7 separate regions of the Homo sapiens genome follow, and regions 1, 2, 3, 4, 5 and 6 are each linked to region 7. Evidence: promoter capture Hi-C in 16 types of primary human blood cells and fetal thymus (Javierre and others, 2016). All regions are on one chromosome and are shown on one strand. Each heading gives the region's core, a stretch centred on a gene start or on the middle of the fragment in contact. The rest is flanking DNA. Distances are from core to core; before and after follow the strand shown. Region 1 has its middle 13 kb from the start of POGZ. Region 2 has its middle 4.0 kb from the start of RFX5. Region 3 has its middle 6.0 kb from the start of SELENBP1. Region 4 overlaps POGZ (pogo transposable element derived with ZNF domain). Region 5 overlaps POGZ (pogo transposable element derived with ZNF domain). Region 6 overlaps POGZ (pogo transposable element derived with ZNF domain). Region 7 holds the start of THEM5 (thioesterase superfamily member 5).

Region 1 (2,817 bases), core at 189-2,688, 380 kb after region 7:
GGACATGTATTAGAATGAAGTAAAACAAAAACTCCACGTCATCACCTACAGAAATGTTCATCATGCACCACGGTGATGTTTTGGGGAGTAGGCCTCCATTTGGCAAAATTACTAGCACACCAAAATCTTATTCTGGTGTCAAGTGAGACCAGCAGCCAGAGCCTAGGAGCCTGATGTTGGGCCCTGTTAAAATGTTATTTACATCTAAATTAATTTGAGAGAGAAAAAGAAAGTAGGAAAAACTATATTTTAAATATCACATTTTTTTTTCCTCCACTTCATTTTCTGCACTCCTACTATGGCTCCCTTAACTCAGTCTGAGGCCAAGAGATTATGATGACAAAAGAGAAATGATCAATAAGAAAAGGCGGCTCCTGAAAACCCAAGCCCACTCGAGGGTTCAGACCTCGAATCCCACCCTTCGGAGCCTCGCCGCTCCCTCCCGGGTTGCGGGCGCCAGCAGAGGAGCGCAGGGCGGACACTGCCCTTTTCTGGACTTCGGTGCTCTTCACCCCGCTTCCCAGTGCCTCCTGCCGCCCCGCGGCCTCCACACCCACGCGCCGCGGGCCCCCGCGCCTTCGCGGCTCCAGCTGTCCCCTCCCGGTATACCCACCCACCCGCACGTCCAACGCCCTTTTTTCCCCCCCCGAAAACTTTCTAGACGGTAGGGACTATTTTCTTCTAATGTAACCTTCCACCAAACTGGAGGGAAAAGTTACCCGAGGCCAGAGAAGGGCTGGGGACGTGGGAGGGACTCACAAGATCCCTGGTTCTAAAAACAGAGGTCTCTTTCCATGAAAGTGAGTAACTGGGCCCCCAAGCCAGAGTTTTGTTTGTTGGATTAATTGGTCAAGGTGCACGTTGAAGCTAAATATCTTAAATGGAGATTTTTAAAAAATGGATATAAAATAGACTCCACTAGACAAATGGTTCTTGTCTTCAGACCTTGCAGTTCTTTCTATTGATTCTCATGTTATCTGTCCCTCCCTACCCCGGGCTCCCACGTCATGAGGTTCACGTATAGGGAAATCCAGGTCACTTCAGTATGATGACTTCATAAACCCTAGAGGAAGAAGTCAAATCTAGAAACTGCTCTTTGAGGCAGTTTGCTGAATTCTATTCTGTATTCTGGAAAGGTAAGCTAACCTGCAGAAATAGTTAATGATTGGGATAATCCTCTAGACCTTCTTTTTCAAACTGGGTGGCAAAATCAGTTTGACAAGCAGTATTAAGAAGGAAGGAGAGGACGGAATGATGGAAGAAAGGGCTGGGCACAGTGGCCCAAGCTGTAATCCCTGCACTTTGGGAGGCCGAGGCAGGGGGAACACTTGAGGCCCCAGGTTGGAGACCAGACTGGGCAACATAGGGAGATCCCATCTCTACAAATAAAAATAAAACTAGCCGGGTGTGGTGGTGCACTTCTGTGGTCCCAGCTACTCCAGAGGCTGAGGCAGGAGGATTGCATGAGCCCAGGAGTTCAAGGCTGCAGTGAGCCATGTTTTATAAGCCACTGCACTCCAGCTTGGGCAACGGAGCAAGACACTGTCTCAAAAAAAAAAAAAAAAAAAAAAGAGGTGTAATAAAAGAGAATAGAAAGCTATCACATAGTGAATATCAGTAGTCTTTCATACAATCTGAATCATGAAAAGTACTGTGTGTTTGTGTGTAGCCAGTCAAGATGTAGAATATGCTTTTTACTGTGGGTGGCTGTCAAAAAATGTTTAAAAACCACTGTGCTAGACAGTGGAACTTTTTAAGGATGCTTAGATTGGAAAGGTTGAAAAGTCATCTAATTTATTCCTCTATACTTAGACAGTATTTCATTTTAAGAATAGTACAGACTTTAATTACCTTTCTTGCTTATCATCTCATCTCAACATTTCCTACTAATGATTTGTGAATAATTTGTCTCTTTAAAGCTATTATTTCAGTAAAGAAAGCTATAACTTTCTTTACTGAAAGAAAGTTATACAAAGGCAATTCTGCCAAGTTCCCTTTTTTTCTATGGCTCTTCTATCCTGTCCCCTGGGCAGTGGACATATTACAAATGTGCCTGAAAGATCTGTCTCCAGTGGAGTCCCAGAGAAATCTGAGTTGCTGGAATATCATGTCATCAGATACCCCCATGGATCTATTTTACTTTATTTTAAAATTTGAATTTTTATTTATCTTTTTTCCCCTTATTATTTATTTCTAAAATTTCATCCACCCATATAGGTTATATGAAAGCCTGAAGGTCTTTGTTTGTTTGTTTGTTTGTTTTGAGATGGAGTCTTGCTCTGTTGCCCAGGCTGGAGTGCAGTGGCGCAATCTCAGCTCACTGCAACCTCTGCGTCCTGGGTTCAAGCAATCCTCCTGTCTCAGACTCCTTAGTAGCTGGATTTACAGGCGCACACCACCACGCCCGGCTAATTTTTGTATTTTCAGTAGAGACGGGGTTTCACCATTTTGGTCAAGCTGTTCTCGAACTCCTGATCTCAGGTGATCCACCTGCCTTGGCCTCCCAAAGTGTTGAGATTATAGGCATGAGCCACCGCATCCAGCCAGAAAGCCCAAAGGTCTTGAATTGACTTTGTCCCTTCTCAAGTAGGGGAGCTCTCTGTCATGCTAACAAGTTTGTGACTGAAACTTTCTATCTTTACACCCATTTCTTCCCCCCATTACACACACTCCAATCTGGCCACTTTCAGTAGCTTAACGTTTGGATTAAAACGCCCAAATTGGGCCCGGTGCGGTGGCTCATGCCAGTAATCCCAGCACTTTGGGAGGCCGAGGCAGGTGGATCACTTGAGGTCAGGAGTTCAAGACCAGCCTGGC
Region 2 (2,929 bases), core at 235-2,734, 500 kb after region 7:
GTTGCAGTGAGCCGAGCTTGTGCTGCTGCACTCCAGCCTGCGTGAGAAAGCAAGACACTGTCTTAAAAAATAAAAAAAAAATTCACTCCCAATCTTAGTAGGCAATGTATAATAGTGTCCAAGAGCAAATTCTGAATGAAATGAGAGAGGAGAAAGAAGAAACCAGTCAGGCAGGCAGTTAAGGTGGGTCCTTGGTAAAACTCCTTCAAACAAAGAACAGCCTGAAAATTAAACTGCAGGCCCCAGATAAGTGACAGCCCGCATCCTGGAATGGAAATACCTACTCTAGGAACCCAGATGAACAAATACCACTCCCTTTTTGGACATATTTCACTCTCTTTGGCACACCTTAGTCTCTTAGTTTTCATCTATTTTACATATGCTTACCTTTCTGTGATTGGCCACAGCGGGAGTCTTCATTTACATAGGGTGAATCATCACTTCAGCCCCTGATTGGTTCCAGGCCAAGGTCCTGGCCCAAGCTTTCACTTCAGCCCCTGACTTGGTTCCAGGCCAAGTTGTTGAGCCAAGCCTTCACTTCTGCCTCCAACTGGTTCTTTACACTATCATACCTCTTTCTGAGTGGTGCTTTCTGCAAGATAGCCTGCAGGCCCGATCAGCACACTCCTCCCTTTCCCAGTCCATAAGCCACCCTCCTCACCCTCCCACTCAGCCTCATAGCTGGCAATCCTCTTTCAGGCCCCCTCTTTGCTGAGAGCTTTTCTGTTGCTTAATAAATCTGACTCTGGCTGGTCAGGAGTTTGAGACCAGCCTGGCCAACATGGTGAAACCCCGTCTGTACTAAAAATACAAAAAATTAGCCAGGTTCGGTGGCTCACACCTGTAATCCCAGCACTTTGAGAGGCCAAGACGGGCAGATCATGAGGTCAAGAGATTGAGACCGTCCTGGACAACATGGTGAAACACCATCTCTACTAAAAATACAAAAATTAGCTGGGCATGGTGGCAGGCGCCTGTAATCTCAGCTACCTGGGAGGCTGAGGCAGGAGAATTGTTTGTACCCAGGAGGTGGAGGTTGCAGTGAGCCAAGATTGTGCCACTGCACTCCAGCTTGGTAACAGAGTGAAACTCCATCGCCCCCCCGCCAAAAAAAAAACAAAAAGCAAAATATTGGCTGGGTGTGGTAGCAGGCACCTACAGTTCTAGCTACTTGGGAGGCTGAGGCAAGAGAATCGCTTGAACCCGGGAGGCGGAGGTTGCAGTGAGCCAAGATCATGCCACTGCACTCCAGTTCAGGTGACAGAGTGAGACTCCCCCATCTCAAAAAAAATAATAAAATAAATAAGTAAATAAATAAATAAATCTGACTGCCTTACTCACTCTCCAGTGTCTACACACCTTATTCTTCTTGGTCGTGGGACAAGAATACAGAGTCCACCAGCAGTTGAAGTGAAAATGCTGGAACACTCCCTCCCACTCTCCAAACAGCAAGAGTGAAAAAGCTGCAACAGGCCAGGCATGGTGGCTCACGCCTATAATCCCAGCACTTTTGGAAGCCAAGGTGGGTGGATCATTTGAGGTCAGGAGCTCAAGACTAGCTTGGCCAAAATGGTGAGACCCCATTTCTACTAAAAATACAAAAATTAGCCAGGTGTGGTGGCACACGCCTGTAATCCCAGCTACTCAGGAGGCTGAGGTAGGAAAATCACTTGAACCTGGGAGGCAGAGGTTGCAGTGAGCCAAGTGCAGTGGAGCCACTGCACTACAGCCTGGATGACAGAGTGAGACTCTGTCTAAAAAGGAAAAAAAAAAAAAGCTGCAACGCAAAGAGCCTAGGTGCAGATCCTGGCTCCATAGCTTACTAAATTATGATGTAATCTTGGGCAAATTATTAACCTTTCAATGCCTGTCTCCTCACCTGTAAAATGGGGATAATCATAGTATCTATCTGAGGCCGCACGCGGTAGCTCACGCCTGTAATCCCAGCACTTTGGGAGGCTGAGGCGGGCGGATCACGAGGTCAGGAGATAGAGACCATCCTGGCTAACATGGTGAAACCCCGTTTCTATTAAAAATACAAAAAAATTAGCCCGGTGTGGTGGCAGGCGCCTGTAGTCCCAGCTACTTGTGAGGCTGAGGCAGGAGAATCACTTGAACCTGGGAGGCAGAGCTTGCAGTGAGCCGAGATTGCGCCACTGCTCTCCAGCCTGGGTGACAGAGCAAGAATCCGTCTCGAAAAAAAAAAGAACGGGCCCCAACACATATTAGGCTCTGTATAAATACTTGCTGTTATATGATGCTTATCCGGACAATTTTTATTGTTACTGCCCAAGGCAAGGACCATACCTTATTCAGCTTTGTATCCCTAGCTCTTAACACAATGCCTGGCATAAATTAATAGTTTCCTCTTTCCTATCTCTAGCCTTTTCTTTCACTCAACTCTACCTTCTATAGTGCTGTCAAAATCATCTCTTTTACTAGGTACTATGTACTATGATACTTTCTCCCCCCTTACTAAAGCTTCCAGTTTTTCCCTGTTATCTGCAAATTTTTAAGCTAGATAACTTACCCAAAACTCTGTTTGCAACCAAAGTGCTCTAGGTTCTCCTTCATACCAAACAGTGGTGTTAGGGCTATCTTTCCATCAGTCTATATCCATATTTGGCTTGCTATTTATTTATTTATTTATTTAGAGATGGAGTTTCGCTCTTGTTGCCCAGGCTGGAGTGCAATGGCATGATCTCGGCTCACCCAACCTCCGCCTCCCAGGTTCAAGCAATTCTCCTGCCTCAGCCTGCCAAGTAGCTGGGATTACAGGCATGCACCACCACGACTGGCTAATTTTGTTTTGTTTTTTGTTTTGTTTTTTGTTTTTTGTTTTTAGTAGAGACGGGGTTTCTCCATGTTGGTCAGGCTGGTCTCAAACTGACCTCAGGTGATCTGCCCACCTCAGCCTCCCAAAGTGCTG
Region 3 (2,740 bases), core at 5-2,504, 470 kb after region 7:
TTTGCCCATCTTATAGGCAAAAATGTTACTGTATTCTTTCACTGTTTCAATTGTTTACACATGTATTTCAAACTTAATATAAAATTTTAAAAATATGATTGATACATAATGTGAAAAATAAAAATTGCTCCCTGTAATCCAATTCTTGAGGTAACCACTGTTAGCTACATTTGGCATGATAAGGGAAGCTTTATCTCTACAAATCCTTTTCTTTAGGTTTTTTTTTTTTTTTTTAAGCGGAGTCTTGCTCTGTCGCCCAGGGTGGAGTGCAGTGGCACGATCTCAGCTCACTGCAACCTCCACCTCCCGGGTTCATGCCATTCTCCTGCCTCAGATTCCCAAGTAGCTGGGACTACAGGCGCCTGCCACCATGCCCGGCTAATTTTTTTTTTTTTTTTTTTTTTTGTATTTTTAGTAGAGATGGGGTTTCGCTGTGTTAGCCAGGATGGTCTCGATCTCCTGACCTCGTGATCCGCCCGCCTCGGCCTCCCCAAGTCCTGGAATTACAGGAGTGAGCCACCACGCCCGGCCTACTTTTTTTTTTTTTTGAGACAGCGTCTCACTCTGCCACCCAGACCAGAGTGCAGTGGTGCAATCACAGCTCACTGCAGCCTCGACCTCCAGGGCTTAAACAATCTTCCCACCTCAGCACACCTTCCCCACCCCCGAAGTAGCTAGGACTACAGGAGCCTGCCAGGCCTAAATTGTTTTAATTTTTTGTAGAGACGGTGTCTCATTATGTTGCCCAGGCTGGTCACAAACCCCTGGGCTCAAGCAATCTGCCTGCCTCAGCCTCCCAAAATACTGACATCAATCATAAGCCAAATCCTTTTCTATGAACGTATAGATGGATGAATAAATAAATAAATATAAATTTAACTAGTTAAAACTATATAGCTTAATTTTTATGTAGTTTTAATTAAAATGAGGCTGGGCACAGTGGCTCACACCTGTAATCCCAGTACTTTGAGAGGCTGAGGCAGGCAGATCAAGACCAGCCTGGCCAACATGGCGAAACCCCATCTCTACTAAAAATACAAAAAAATTAGCCTGGCTTGGTGGTACATGCCTGTAATCTCAGCTACTTGGGAGGCTGAGGCAGAAGAATTGTTTGAACCCGGGAGGCGGAGGTTGTAGTGAGCCAGGATGGCACCACTGCACTCCAGCCTGGGTGACAGAGCGAGACTCTTGTCTCAAAAAATAAAAAATAAAATGAAATGAGATTATACTTTCTGGTTTCCCCCACCCCTCCACCGTATTTATTGATATCCTTCTGTGTTGGTATATAGAAAACTACACATTAAGGTGCTTGGTGTTTCATACTATGGATGTTCCATAATATATTTCACCATTCTGCTATTGGTTGTTTCCAACCTTTCACTATTAAGAACATTGTTGCAATGAACATCCTATATTTATATATTTATATACTTATTGATTTCCATAAGGTAGATCACTAGAAGTGGATTTCCATTTAAAATGTTGCTAGATGTTGCTAAATTTCCTTCTAAAAATGTTCCACCATTTTATAGTCTTGCCAGTAGAATACAGGAGTGGTCCTTTTCCCCACACTCCTTCTGATCCTGAATATTATCAATCTTTTTATTTTTGAAAATCATATCTTTTTGTTGCTTTAACCAGCATTTCTCTAATGGCTAATGAGACCAGGTATGTTTTCTTATGGTTATTAGCCATTTATATTGTATTTTCATATCCTTGGAATGTTTTTCTTTGTGTAATTTATCTTTTTCCAATTGATTTGTTAAAGATTACTGTATATTGGGAACAGCTATTATTTTCAGTTTAAGCCTTTTTAAACTTTGGTTTCTGAGCACCTTTTGAAAAGGTGAGAAAGGAAATCTGGGGCTCCCATATCCCACATAGCACTTTTAGCATTCCTGCACATGGACGTGACCCTGAGGAGATTGTAAAGGAAACCAGCCGGGTGGATATGATGCAAAAGAGACAGCAGATCCAGGATGGGCAGTGAAGCCCCTGCCCGGGCCTCCTCCCAATTCCATGTAGACCTGAGGCCATGTCTCCCAAAGTCTCTGGCCTCCTGTCCTTCTGGGACACTGGGAGAAGGATCCCCTAACTTCTTCTCAGGCAGCATTCAGGTGCTGAGGTGAGAAAGTGGAGGCCTGGGCTCCGCAAAGAAGGGGATTTGTTTCTGCCCGTCCTGAGCCTTAGTAGAGAAACTGTGACTCAGGGATATGACCCCAGGGACCAAAGATTCTTCCTGCCCCCAAATGGAAGGGCTTTTATTTTCCTTTGGAAATTTTATTTCAAGTATTGTAACATGTTCAAAATAGAAGCTTTATTAGGGGTTTGATGGCTTAATTTGGGCCATTAACCAAGACTGATGTAATTCTTTCTTCTCAGGACTCTTAAATGAATGGGTGCTAGCCAAGTGGGCCTCGTAAAGGTGGAGATTATTGCATGAAAGCCATTTTATGGCTCTTGTCTCAGTTCTTCTGGAGCCAGGCTTGGCACAGGAGAAAGGCTGGAGAGAGGGTGTTGGTGATGGCAAGCGTCACCTGTGTCCTTGTAACCAAAGTTGCTGCTACCTCTTCCAGTCTGCATAATTGGTTTTCAAACCCACCTCATCTTTTCTTCTTGTGCATTAAATGTGTAACAAGATACATAATTTCTGTTCTAGTCAGACCCTTCTTTTTCCTTTCCTTTCCTTTTTTTTTTTTTAGGAGATGAGAGTCTTGCTATGTTGTCCTGTCTGGACTCA
Region 4 (2,700 bases), core at 175-2,674, 430 kb after region 7:
GCTTAAGTGGCTTCTGCCATTTACCTTCATTAATATTGGAAGCTTGTAAGCAGGGGCTCTAAAATGACTGAAGCTTTTTAAAGGGTTACTGTTTCTCTTGGTCTGTTTTTAGAAGAGCTGTGTACTTTGGAATGTGATGGGATACATTTAAAGACCCTCAAATAGATCAGAACATATGTGATCTTACTTTCTTAGTGTGGTAGATTTTGAAACCACACAGGAGAACAGGTTTATAGATAATAAGGACTCAAACCATATTGGCCTCAGTTCATTTTTGTTAATTGTGTCATTGGATGAATCGGGAGCTCTTACTTCCATTTTTTAGCTTTTCATTTTTTGGTATTAGTCCAGATAAAAAGGTTGGAACTTCTTCTTTGCCAGGGAGCTCAGAGCCAAGTTATACTAATGATTAAGGGACCTAAGACAGGCAGGAGGGAGAAATACAAAGTATAGCGCTTGGGTGGCATATGTGGATATACTCTAGAAAAGGAGTAAAACTTGGAAACGCTAAAAAAAACTGAAGGGTGAAAGCTGAATGAGAATACCTGAAACCAAACCGTTAACAAGGAATGGTAGTGAAGTTAAGGAGTTAGCACATTCTAGCCCCCAGGATAACCAGAATGATCAGATGTCTTTCTTTATAGTACTGTTGCCCAGAAATGGTTGAATACCAGAAGAAAGGAAAGTCCCTGGATTCAGAACCCAGTGTCCCATCAGCAGCAAAGCCCCCATCCCCTGAGAAAACAGCTCCTGTTGCTTCCACACCCTCTTCTACACCTATTCCTGCTCTGTCACCGCCTACCAAAGTACCAGAACCAAATGAGAACGTGGGCGATGCCGTCCAGACCAAACTCATTATGCTTGTAGATGACTTCTACTATGGACGGGATGGTGGCAAAGTAGCCCAGCTCACAAATTTCCCTAAGGTCGCCACATCTTTCCGATGCCCACATTGTACCAAAAGGCTAAAAAACAATATTCGGTAAGTGTTTAAGAGCCTTGGAAGTTACCTTGAACAAGAGAAGACTTACATTTTCTTATATATTTTAAGTCTTTCTCTTTGGAGAATGGACCTAACTACTATGCAGTCTTGCTGGGGTTATCATTAAATCAATAACTAGGACTATAGAAGGAGATATTGTGGTAATAAACAAAAGGTAACTGGATCGAGTAAGGGAAAGCAGTATGTCTCCTTTCCCAGAACTCTCTTAGTTTCAAGAACTCATTATCTTTCTGGGCTCAGAAAAGGATATCCCAAACAGGAAGTCTGGGGAATGGAGGGGAGCAGATAATGTTTGTTCTGTGATTTTACCATTATATTTCTAAAAGGCTACCAATTTTTTATGTTTTCTGTACTTTCTCTTTGTGCTTTATTACAGATTCATGAACCATATGAAACACCACGTAGAACTCGATCAGCAGAACGGTGAGGTAGATGGTCACACTATCTGCCAGCACTGTTACCGCCAGTTTTCCACTCCCTTCCAGCTTCAGTGCCACTTGGAAAATGTTCATAGTCCCTATGAATCTACTAGTAAGTTTGGAAACTCTTAAACTCAAGGGGAATATACCTTGCTGTTCACTCATTGAATGGCGCTGGGGGGAGCCCATTATATTTATTTACATGTGGGTAACAGTGTAGAGGAAGTACTTTTCATATTTGTAGCCAGTTCTTTACTTCATTCACCTTGTTTTTTTTTACAAGCCTGACTTTTATTTTGTTCAAGCATGGATTGAGTTCAGTGTTAGATCCTGAATTGTTAGGGGCGTTGATTCAGAACCACTGTAGAAAAACAAATGTAATTAATTTATTTCTTAGGTCTCTTTATAGAAGGAACAGTCATCTATTTGCTCTTCCACTTTAGTTAAACCCTGATAGGTTTTATGTAGGCTAAAAGATAATATTGTGAAGTACTTTATCATTAAGACATTGCTTTCAATGAAATATAAGATGAGCTGGAGTGTTTTCTACACTGTATATTTTATACATGTAGGCTGGACATAAGCTCAAAGAAATTAAGTAGGATAAAAGATAATATGGCCGGGCACGGTGGCTCACGCCTGTAATCCCAACACTTTGGGAGGCCGAAGCAGGCAGATCACCTGAAGTCAGGAATTCGAGACCAGCCCGGCCAACATGGCGAAGCCCCATCTCTACTAAAAATGCAAAAATTAGCTGGGTGTGGTGGCGGGCACCTGTAATCCCAGCTACTCGGGAGGCTGAGACAGGAGAATCGCTTGAACCCGGGAGGCGGAGGTTGCAGTGAGCTGAGATCATGCCATTGCACTCCAGTCTGGGCAACAAGAGCAAAACTCCATCTCCAAAAAAAAAAAGATAATATTATGAAGTACTTTATCATTAAGACAGTGCTTTCAGTGAAATATAAGGTAAGCTGGAATGTTTTTCTACACTGTACATTTTATAGATAGATGTAGGCTGAACATAAGCTCAAAGAAATTGAGTCATTTGCTTATGAGCGTACACCTCTAAATACACCTCTACTGGGGATACATAGTGAGGATTTAAGCCCAGTATTGAGAATACTTCTCATGTCCTTTACGGGATTTCCAGTTTTGTTGTAAAGACAAAAATTATGTAAATATAGGAAAATGTGAGAACAAGATAGTATATTATAAACATAGACATTTTAAGATATCATTGATAGGTGAAATACTTCAGAGAAGGGAAAAAATCCTTGT
Region 5 (2,700 bases), core at 145-2,644, 450 kb after region 7:
GGCTGGAGTGCAATAGCATGATCTTGGCTCACTGCAACCTCTGCCTCCTGGGTTCAAGTGATTCTCCTGTCTCAGCCTCCCAAGTAGCTGGGATTATAGGTGTGCACCACCATGCCTGGCTGATTTTTTTGTATTTTTAGTAGAGACGGGGTTTCACCTTGTTGGCCAGGCTGGTCTCAAACTCCTGAGCTCAGGTGATCCACCTGCCTCGGCCTCCCTAAAGTGCTGGGATTACAGACATGAGCCACTGCGCCCGGCCCCAGCCAGATTCTTGAGCACTCATTTCATTTTCTCCCCTGCTTCTAATATGTTTCCTCCTTCAACTCTTAGAGCTATTTGTTCTTCTCTCCTAGCAGAGTGAGAGGCTCTGTTTTTTCGGTTTTGATGGTCTGTGCTCTAATTTCATAGGGCCTTGCTATTCAAGTACCAGTAGTATTAGGTGGGAGCTTGTTAGAAATGCTGACTCTCAGCCCCGCCCTAGGCCTACTGAACCAGAATGTGAATTTTAATAGATCCTCAGTGACTTGTATGCATATTAAAGTTTAAGAAGCATGGTGACAGGAAAACTGGCTTAGGTTGAGATTAGGGTGCACTGAAGAAGTGTCTCTTTTGTTGGGGGCATTGTCACTGGCTGGTGATCTCTAGCTTAGCCAGCAGAACTCCGTAACTCATACCACTTCTTTGTCTTTCTCAGCAATCATGTTCCACGGAAGAGCCCCAAGTATTTGGCTTTGTTTAAAAATTCTGTGAGGTAAGAAAAAACTTATTGGCAGCATCTTAATTTTTCAGGTTTTTACATTAATTTTCAGGTTTTTCATTATTTGGAGAGGTGGTTATGTGAATTAATTTCAGAAAAAGGAGAAAGTGGGAGGGCATTCCTTTTCTTTCTTAAGCCTCAAAGCTTAATGGTCTCAAGTGTCACTGCTGTGTTTGTCTTACATAGTCTCAATTCTCTTTTTTAGTGGAATCAAGCTGGCCTGCACTTCATGTACCTTTGTTACCTCTGTGGGCGATGCTATGGCCAAGCATTTGGTATTCAACCCCTCTCACAGATCCAGCAGCATCCTGCCACGGGGTAAGTAGGAGAGAAGGGGATTAGTTGAGCAAGGGGAGGAAAAAAGATACAGGTTCGTACTGTATGCATCAGGAGCATACCTACTTGGCCTCACTCATTCACTGTTGAGATGTGCTGGACCTAATTAGAAACCTTCCGACCTGAAGTTTATATAAAACTGGGAAAGCTGGTCACTGCGAACAGCGTATTTGTATGTAGTAAGTTGAATCCCAGGGCACTGTCTTTGGAGGGCTTATTTTTTCACTGAGCTAACTATTTTTGTTGTTTCATTTTCCATAGGACTCACTTGGATAGCTCACTCAAGGTAACAAAAACTCACCTCACAATTTAATTTCTGGTTTGCAGTGTGTTTACTCTGTTATTATTATTATTATTATCATATTATTGTTTCAATTTCCTAGTTGAACTGAGATTTCTCCTCTTCTCTTTGCTCCTCACCCCTTTAGGCATGGCCAGACTCGTGACCGAGTGCATGACCGGAACGTGAAGAATATGTACCCTCCTCCTTCCTTCCCCACTAACAAAGCTGCCACTGTGAAATCTGCGGGGGCCACCCCAGCTGAGCCTGAAGAGCTACTAACTCCCTTAGCCCCAGCACTCCCATCACCAGCCTCAACTGCAACCCCACCACCAACCCCCACTCACCCGCAGGCTTTAGCCCTTCCACCGCTGGCTACAGAGGGAGCCGAATGTCTGAATGTTGATGATCAGGATGAAGGGAGCCCAGTCACCCAAGAACCTGAGCTAGCATCAGGTGGTGGTGGTAGTGGTGGAGTTGGCAAAAAGGAGCAGCTGTCTGTGAAGAAGCTTCGAGTAGTACTGTTTGCTCTATGCTGCAATACAGAACAGGCAGCTGAACACTTCCGAAATCCCCAGCGACGTATTCGCCGTTGGCTTCGACGTTTCCAGGCCTCCCAGGGGGAGAATCTAGAGGGCAAATATCTGAGCTTTGAGGCAGAAGAGAAACTGGCTGAGTGGGTGCTAACCCAGCGCGAACAACAGCTACCTGTAAATGAGGAGACCTTGTTCCAGAAGGCCACCAAAATAGGACGTTCTTTGGAAGGGGGGTTTAAGATCTCCTATGAGTGGGCTGTGCGTTTCATGCTGCGGCACCACCTGACTCCCCATGCCCGGCGAGCTGTGGCCCACACCCTACCTAAGGATGTAGCAGAGAATGCAGGACTCTTCATTGATTTTGTACAACGGCAGATTCACAACCAGGACTTACCCTTGTCTATGATTGTGGCTATTGATGAGATCTCTTTGTTCCTGGATACAGAGGTGCTGAGCAGTGATGATCGAAAGGAGAATGCCCTGCAGACAGTGGGCACAGGGGAACCTTGGTGTGATGTAGTCCTAGCCATTCTGGCAGATGGCACTGTCCTTCCCACCCTGGTTTTCTACAGAGGGCAGATGGATCAGCCTGCTAACATGCCAGACTCCATATTGCTAGAGGCAAAGGAGAGTGGCTACAGTGATGACGAGATCATGGAGCTGTGGTCAACTCGAGTGTGGCAGAAGCACACAGCTTGCCAGCGCAGCAAAGGCATGCTTGTGATGGACTGTCATCGCACTCACTTGTCAGAAGAGGTACTGGCTATGCTTAGTGCCTCTAGCACTTTGCC
Region 6 (2,744 bases), core at 2-2,501, 400 kb after region 7:
AATGGATTTTAACAGTAAAAAAGTGGATTGATGTGGTTTCAGATTCCAAAATGTTAACTGTCCTTTAAGAAACTACTATTTGGCCTAGCGTGGTGGCTCACTCCTGTAATCCCAGCACTTTGGGAGGCCAAGGTGGAAGGATTGTGTGAGCCCAGGAGTTGGAGTTGAGCCTGGTCAGCATAGTGAGACCCTGTCTCTATTTATTAAAAAAAAAAAAAAAAAAAAAAAAGAAAGAAACTACCGTTTGTTGAGTTTTAGTATTTACCAAACACAGTTATCTGAAAAGGTTATTAAAATACTTCTCCCTTTTCCGACTAGATTTTCATTATATACTTAACCAAAGCTACATATAGCAACAGACTGAATGCAGAAGTAACTGTGAGAATCCAACCATCTTTTATCAAGTTAGACATAAAAGAGATTTGCAAAATGCAAAACAACGTTACTTTTCTCACTTTTTGGAGGGAAAGTATTTTTTGTTGAAATGTTATTTATGTTAACTTATAATGGGCTTGTCTTAAAATACATTGATAAATACTACATTTTAAAAATTTGTGGTAAATGTGGAAAGATAAAATTCACATAAACAAAAGATCTTTGGCGTCTTCAATAATTTTAAGAGTCAAAAAAATGAGAATCATTCAGTCAGTCCTATGTTTCTGCTCTTTACATCATTCAAATCTAACTCCCTTGGGGAACTTGGGAGAATTTATAAATAGTTGAAGTTGATGGAAGAGGCAGTGACCTGGGGAAGAATTCTAAAGCAAAAAAAGCTTGCTTTGAATCCTAACTGGGATATTTACTAACTGTAACCTTGAGGAAGTTACTTCGTCTCTCTAAACCACTGTTTTGACCTTATCTGTAAAATAAAAACTTTAGAGCTGGTTGATTACAAATCCTAGAGCTGGTTAATGCCTTTGCCATAATATCAATATGGTAACATTTTGATAGATTCTTTGGTATTCTTGTTTGTGATATTAAGCCATATTCACAAAAACTTGTCTTTTTTTTTTTTTTGAGATGGAGTCTCGCTCTATTGCCCAGGCTGGAGCGTAATGGCGCAATCTCGGCTCACTGCACCCTCCGCCTCCTGGGTTCAAGCGATTCTCCTCCTTCAGCTTCCTCAGTAGCTGGGATTACAGGCACGCGCCACCACACCTGGGTAATTTTTGTATTTTTCTAGAGATGGGGTTTCACCATATTGATCAGGCTGGTCTCAAACTCCTGACCTCTTGATCGACCCGCCTTGGCCTCCCAAAGTGCTGGGATTACAGGCGTGAGCCACCACGCCCAACTGAAAAACGTATTTTTATATGTAACCAAGGGGAGGAGAGCAGAAAAGAGACACTAACCTATTGCTAGGTGTTAGCAGAGTTAAAAGAAATTGAAAGCATAGAAATGGAATTTAGGCAACACACAGCTGTCATTGAAGAAAAGTTTTCCATCATAGTATAGATATTTTTCTTGGGAAAGGGACTCCTGAATATTGAACCCCTTTAAAGAAGAGAACTTGTTGCTTACTTGTTTTAGTAAAGAGCACAGAACTAAATATTTGGGTGTTTCTTGATACAGGATTGGCTACCAGACAAGAGGAAAGTATTTTGAGTTTGGAAATTTTAGGTTATTAAGACTACTTAAAACCCTTATGATTCTTACATATGAGGTACTATAACAGATGTTGTGAGGGACAAAATGGGCTGTGCAAAAGACTGGATAAATAAAAGCTTATTACATGTTTAACTATAGTTTTATACACAGATTAAGTATTCAGCCCTATAGGTTTTCTGGTATTAGTCCTTTTTAGAGCCAAAAATTGAGGTAACTTGAAAACATAATTACCAGTTATGTTGAGGATTATCATTGTTTATTTTTCACCCTGGAACAAGAAAGTGGTATTCTTAAAATGTTTGTTTTCTGTAAAATATTTTTCCTGTTCCAAATGTTCTTTTTATGTTGATTTTTGGGCAGGTATGTACTGGCAGTAAGTTGAAAACGTTAGATACCAAATTCTTCATTTCTGAATTCTTCATTCTTCATTTCTGGACTTTACAGCTATGAAAGAACAAGACAAAGGAATTCAGAGCTTTCAAGAACCAAGTATGTCAGGATAGTTGTGGAAAACAGATCTTTTTCTCATTTTCTTTGAGATGAAGATAGGCAACATTTGCTGCCCATTAAATACCTTAAAAGTATACAGGTGTATCTGCAGGATTCTTTTTGCTGCTTTTAAATAGTATATTGTTTTAAAAGGTCTGTTTTTATCTTGCCTTTACAATTATATAGACTTTTATTGACTAGCTGATCATATAGGGCCTTAGTATAGACTACCATATTCGCCAGCATTTAAGAAATAGTCCCCTTCCCTCCAGGAGAGTATTTATCTGGTACTCCCATATTATGGATTGAAGGATGAGACAAGAGACTGAGTATTGCTAATAGTTCTGTGTGAGCCTGCAGTGTTAAGTAAAACCTATTGAGTGCACAAAAAAATCATGTTACAATTACTACAAAATAGAGAAACCACCTAGGTTACCAAGATGTCAAATAATGGATTAATGGAAGAAAGTAATGTACCTCCTTGGTAGCCTACATAATCCACCTTAATTTGTTATTTCTTATTTAACTATTTTGCTATGTCTTAAGAAATGTATATTAAGTGAAAATGGATGCATAAAAATAAAAAAAGAGAAATGTATATATACAAGCTACATGAAAATTGGTCCTGGGAATAAATCAAGAAATTC
Region 7 (2,847 bases), core at 206-2,705:
CACCTTTGCACAGTTCTGATTTTTTTTTTTTTAAGACAAGGTCTCACTCGGCCTCCCAAAATGCTGAGATTACAGCCTTGAGCCACTGCGCGAGGACTGATCTTTAGAACATGCTTTTATTTTAGTCAATTTAAAACTGAGACTTTTAATTGAAAATTGGCAGTTTAAATTCAATAGAAGACACACCACCACCAAATCCCACTGCCTTGCAGATGTTGGCTGAGTGTCCCTTCCCACTCAACAAAGCCTCACTGCCGCGCCCACCTCACTCCCAGCACTGCCTGCTGACATGAGCCACTCCCTGGGCACGGGGTTCCCAAAACATGAGAGTATCCCTGCCAAGCTGTTTCCTCCCAAATTATTTTCTGCCCTCCCTGTCAAGCCCTCCCCCACCTCCAACTCCTATCCCCAGCCAGAGACCAGCAGGTGAAACTCTCCTGTGCTAACCCTTGTCCGGGATATAAGAAGAGGTGTTGGCCGGGTGCGGTGGCTCACGCCTGTAATCCCAGCACTTTGGGAGGTCACCTGAGGTCAGGAGTTCAAGACCAGCCTGGCTAACATGGCAAAACCCCATCTCTACTAAAAAAAATATACAAAATTTAGCTGGGTGTGGTGGTGTGTGTCTGTAATCCCAGCTACTCAGGAGGCTGAGGCAGGAGAATCACTTGAACCCAGGAGGCGGAGGTTGCAGTGAGCCGAGATCACGCCATTGCACACCAGCCTGGGCGACAAGATTGAAACTCCGTCTCACCAAAAAAAAAAAAAAAAAAAAAAAAGAGGTGTCTAAGGCTGTGAGTTGGTTTTCTTTTTTTTTATTTTTTTATTTTTATTTTTTTGAGACGGAGTCTCGCTCAGTCGCCCAGGCTGGAGTGCGGTGGCTAGATCTCAGCTCACTGCAAGCTCCACCTCCCAGGTTCACGCCATTCTCCTGCCTCAGCCCCCTGCGTAGCTGGGACTACCGGCACCCGCCACCACGCCCGGCTAATTTTTTGTATTTTTTTTAGTAGAGACGGGGTTTCACCGTGTTAGCCAGGATGGTCTCGATCTCCTAACCTCGTAATCCGCCGCCTCGGCCTCCCAAAGTGCTGGGATTACAGGCGTGAGCCACCGCACCCGGCCTGTGAGTTGGTTTTCTGAGTCACAAAATCATACCAGAGTTTTCAGAGTCCGGTATACACTGCAGAGCACATACCAAGAACACTCCACCAGCACCCTCCAATCAAGGGACAGGCTTCCCTTATCCTTCTGGAAATATTCTTGGATTCTCCCTCAGAACCCCCAGGCAGCTCTCCAAGGCTCTATATACCCCATACTATTTGTTTATGTACTTGTTTACTCCTTTTGCAACTCAAGCCAGTCCTGCTGCCTTTTCATGCCCAAGCAGCATCTGTCCCTCCCCAAGCACTGGGTGGGGCTCCTAGACCAGCTAAAGGCGCCGAGCATCTGTGGGTGTTGCAGCACACCAGCCCAGCCTCGCCTAGCTCTCTGAAAGAAAGCCTGCAACAGAAGGGAGAGAAGCGGCCCCAAGTGCAGCTGAAAGCACTCCTTGGGAGTCAGCCAAGACCCTCCATCCAAGCAGGGCTGGATCCTTGCACTTGGCCATGATAAGGAGATGCTTCCAGGTGGCAGCAAGACTTGGCCACCACAGAGGCCTTCTTGAGGCCCCCCGTATCCTGCCCAGACTCAACCCTGCCTCAGCATTTGGATCCTCCACAGACTCCATGGTGAGTTCCCAGCTCAGCCAGATGGGCAGTGTTTTCCCAGGAGCCTAGGGCTTAAGGAGCACCCCAAATCTCCTCTTCCCAGCCCATGGCCAGGGCAGGTGGGCAGTGTTCGGAGGAGCTATTTGATTTGGCAAAGAGAAAGTGCTCTGGGATACCAAGTTGCCCCCATTCAAAACTAAAACTACCAGGAGACCTGCATCTGGCTCTGTGTCTTGTGTGGCCACCAACAAATGACTTTCCTCCTGTGGGACTCAGACTACTGCAGCAAAGCTGGGGTATCCCCAGACAGAGGACCCCATCTGTGGCATTGGCAAGCAGCTCACATGCTGTCTACAGTTGTGACTGGTGTATGAGCAGGTGACGCTACAGAGGACTTCCTTACGTCACACAGATGGGCACATAGTCTGTGCCCCAGCCATGGCACCACACCTCTGTGGGGGCCCAAATGTGTTTCAAAGGAGCCACCCTGCCCAGGCAGGCCCACAGCAGTGGGCAGAGCTGGAGTAGCCCCTGAGGTGGGGGTTGCTAGAATGGTCCTCAACAACTGTGACCCTGCCCTGCAGAGGAGACAGCATCTAGTGCGACCACCAGCTCTCACAGTCACATGCTTGGCAACCTTGGCCGTATTCCCTCAGTTTCCCCATCTGTACAGTGAGGCTAATATGAGCAGTTGTCAACTTTAAAGAACTGCTCACATGTTTTAAGCAGAACAAGGGTAAGGCACCACATCGAGCAGCATGCCCATCATCTCTGGCCCCACTCCCTGCCCGCCCTTCCCTTGCTCTTTAGCATCCTTATGCCCCGTCACCCATAGGGGTCCGCAGCCCCCCTGCAAGGAATATGGGCCCTTTCCCTTGGATCGATACTCTGGCAGAAGGGATTGAGAAGCCCCAGCACCCAGGAACAGCTGTTTAGAGGTCCCGAGCCCAGGCAGCAGCCCCCCTCCAGGATGCTGTCTAGTCATTCTGATTTTTCCTGCCCAGTTCTCAAGATTCTTGCCAGAGAAGACAGACTTGAAGGATTATGCTCTTCCCAATGCCAGCTGGTGTTCGGACATGCTGAGCCTGTACCAAGAATTTCTGGAGAAGACTAAGTCTAGCGGCTGGATCAAGCTGCCCTCCTT

The links. The method cuts DNA at HindIII sites, captures the fragments that hold promoters and counts their contacts. A CHiCAGO score of 5 or more calls a contact.
Region 1: a fragment that was not itself captured here is called in contact with the fragment with the promoter of THEM5 in region 7 in 4 of 17 cell types (M0 macrophages, M2 macrophages, activated CD4 T cells and 1 more); the score reaches 6.2 in M0 macrophages.
Region 2: a contact is called between a fragment that was not itself captured here and the fragment with the promoter of THEM5 in region 7, in 2 of 17 cell types (M1 macrophages and M0 macrophages). The highest score is 5.4, in M1 macrophages.
Region 3: a fragment that was not itself captured here is called in contact with the fragment with the promoter of THEM5 in region 7 in 2 of 17 cell types (endothelial precursors and M2 macrophages); the score reaches 5.7 in endothelial precursors.
Region 4: a fragment that was not itself captured here is called in contact with the fragment with the promoter of THEM5 in region 7 in 14 of 17 cell types (M2 macrophages, M0 macrophages, M1 macrophages and 11 more); the score reaches 10.8 in M2 macrophages.
Region 5: a contact is called between a fragment that was not itself captured here and the fragment with the promoter of THEM5 in region 7, in 5 of 17 cell types (M2 macrophages, erythroblasts, M1 macrophages and 2 more). The highest score is 7.7, in M2 macrophages.
Region 6: a contact is called between a fragment that was not itself captured here and the fragment with the promoter of THEM5 in region 7, in 14 of 17 cell types (M2 macrophages, M0 macrophages, M1 macrophages and 11 more). The highest score is 16.3, in M2 macrophages.

What each region holds. Positions count from the first base shown.
Region 1 is chr1:151,471,243-151,474,059 of GRCh38, reverse strand. No RefSeq gene overlaps it. Among named protein-coding and RNA genes, the nearest start is that of POGZ, 13 kb to the right of the region's middle. The HindIII fragment of the contact is 4,139 bases long and covers 1-2,817 here.
Region 2 is chr1:151,349,771-151,352,699 of GRCh38, reverse strand. No RefSeq gene overlaps it. Among named protein-coding and RNA genes, the nearest start is that of RFX5, 4.0 kb to the right of the region's middle. RefSeq lists a silencer at 1,300-1,500. The HindIII fragment of the contact is 1,999 bases long and covers 485-2,483 here.
Region 3 is chr1:151,377,367-151,380,106 of GRCh38, reverse strand. No RefSeq gene overlaps it. Among named protein-coding and RNA genes, the nearest start is that of SELENBP1, 6.0 kb to the right of the region's middle. The HindIII fragment of the contact is 2,127 bases long and covers 191-2,317 here.
Region 4 is chr1:151,422,231-151,424,930 of GRCh38, reverse strand. It overlaps POGZ (pogo transposable element derived with ZNF domain), which reads left to right. Exons shown (of 19, transcript NM_015100.4): 9 at 645-982; 10 at 1,380-1,534. Among named protein-coding and RNA genes, the nearest start is that of PSMB4, 24 kb to the right of the region's middle. The HindIII fragment of the contact is 2,697 bases long and covers 76-2,700 here.
Region 5 is chr1:151,405,286-151,407,985 of GRCh38, reverse strand. It overlaps POGZ (pogo transposable element derived with ZNF domain), which reads left to right. Exons shown (of 19, transcript NM_015100.4): 16 at 695-751; 17 at 963-1,075; 18 at 1,355-1,379; 19 at 1,522-2,700. Among named protein-coding and RNA genes, the nearest start is that of PSMB4, 7.1 kb to the right of the region's middle. The HindIII fragment of the contact is 981 bases long and covers 904-1,884 here.
Region 6 is chr1:151,453,380-151,456,123 of GRCh38, reverse strand. All of the region lies in intron 1 of POGZ (pogo transposable element derived with ZNF domain), which reads left to right. Among named protein-coding and RNA genes, the nearest start is that of POGZ, 4.7 kb to the left of the region's middle. The HindIII fragment of the contact is 951 bases long and covers 776-1,726 here.
Region 7 is chr1:151,852,320-151,855,166 of GRCh38, reverse strand. THEM5 (thioesterase superfamily member 5) reads left to right here and starts at 1,455. Exons shown (of 6, transcript NM_182578.4): 1 at 1,455-1,724; 2 at 2,708-2,847. The coding sequence starts at 1,602. The HindIII fragment of the contact is 9,012 bases long and covers 1-2,847 here.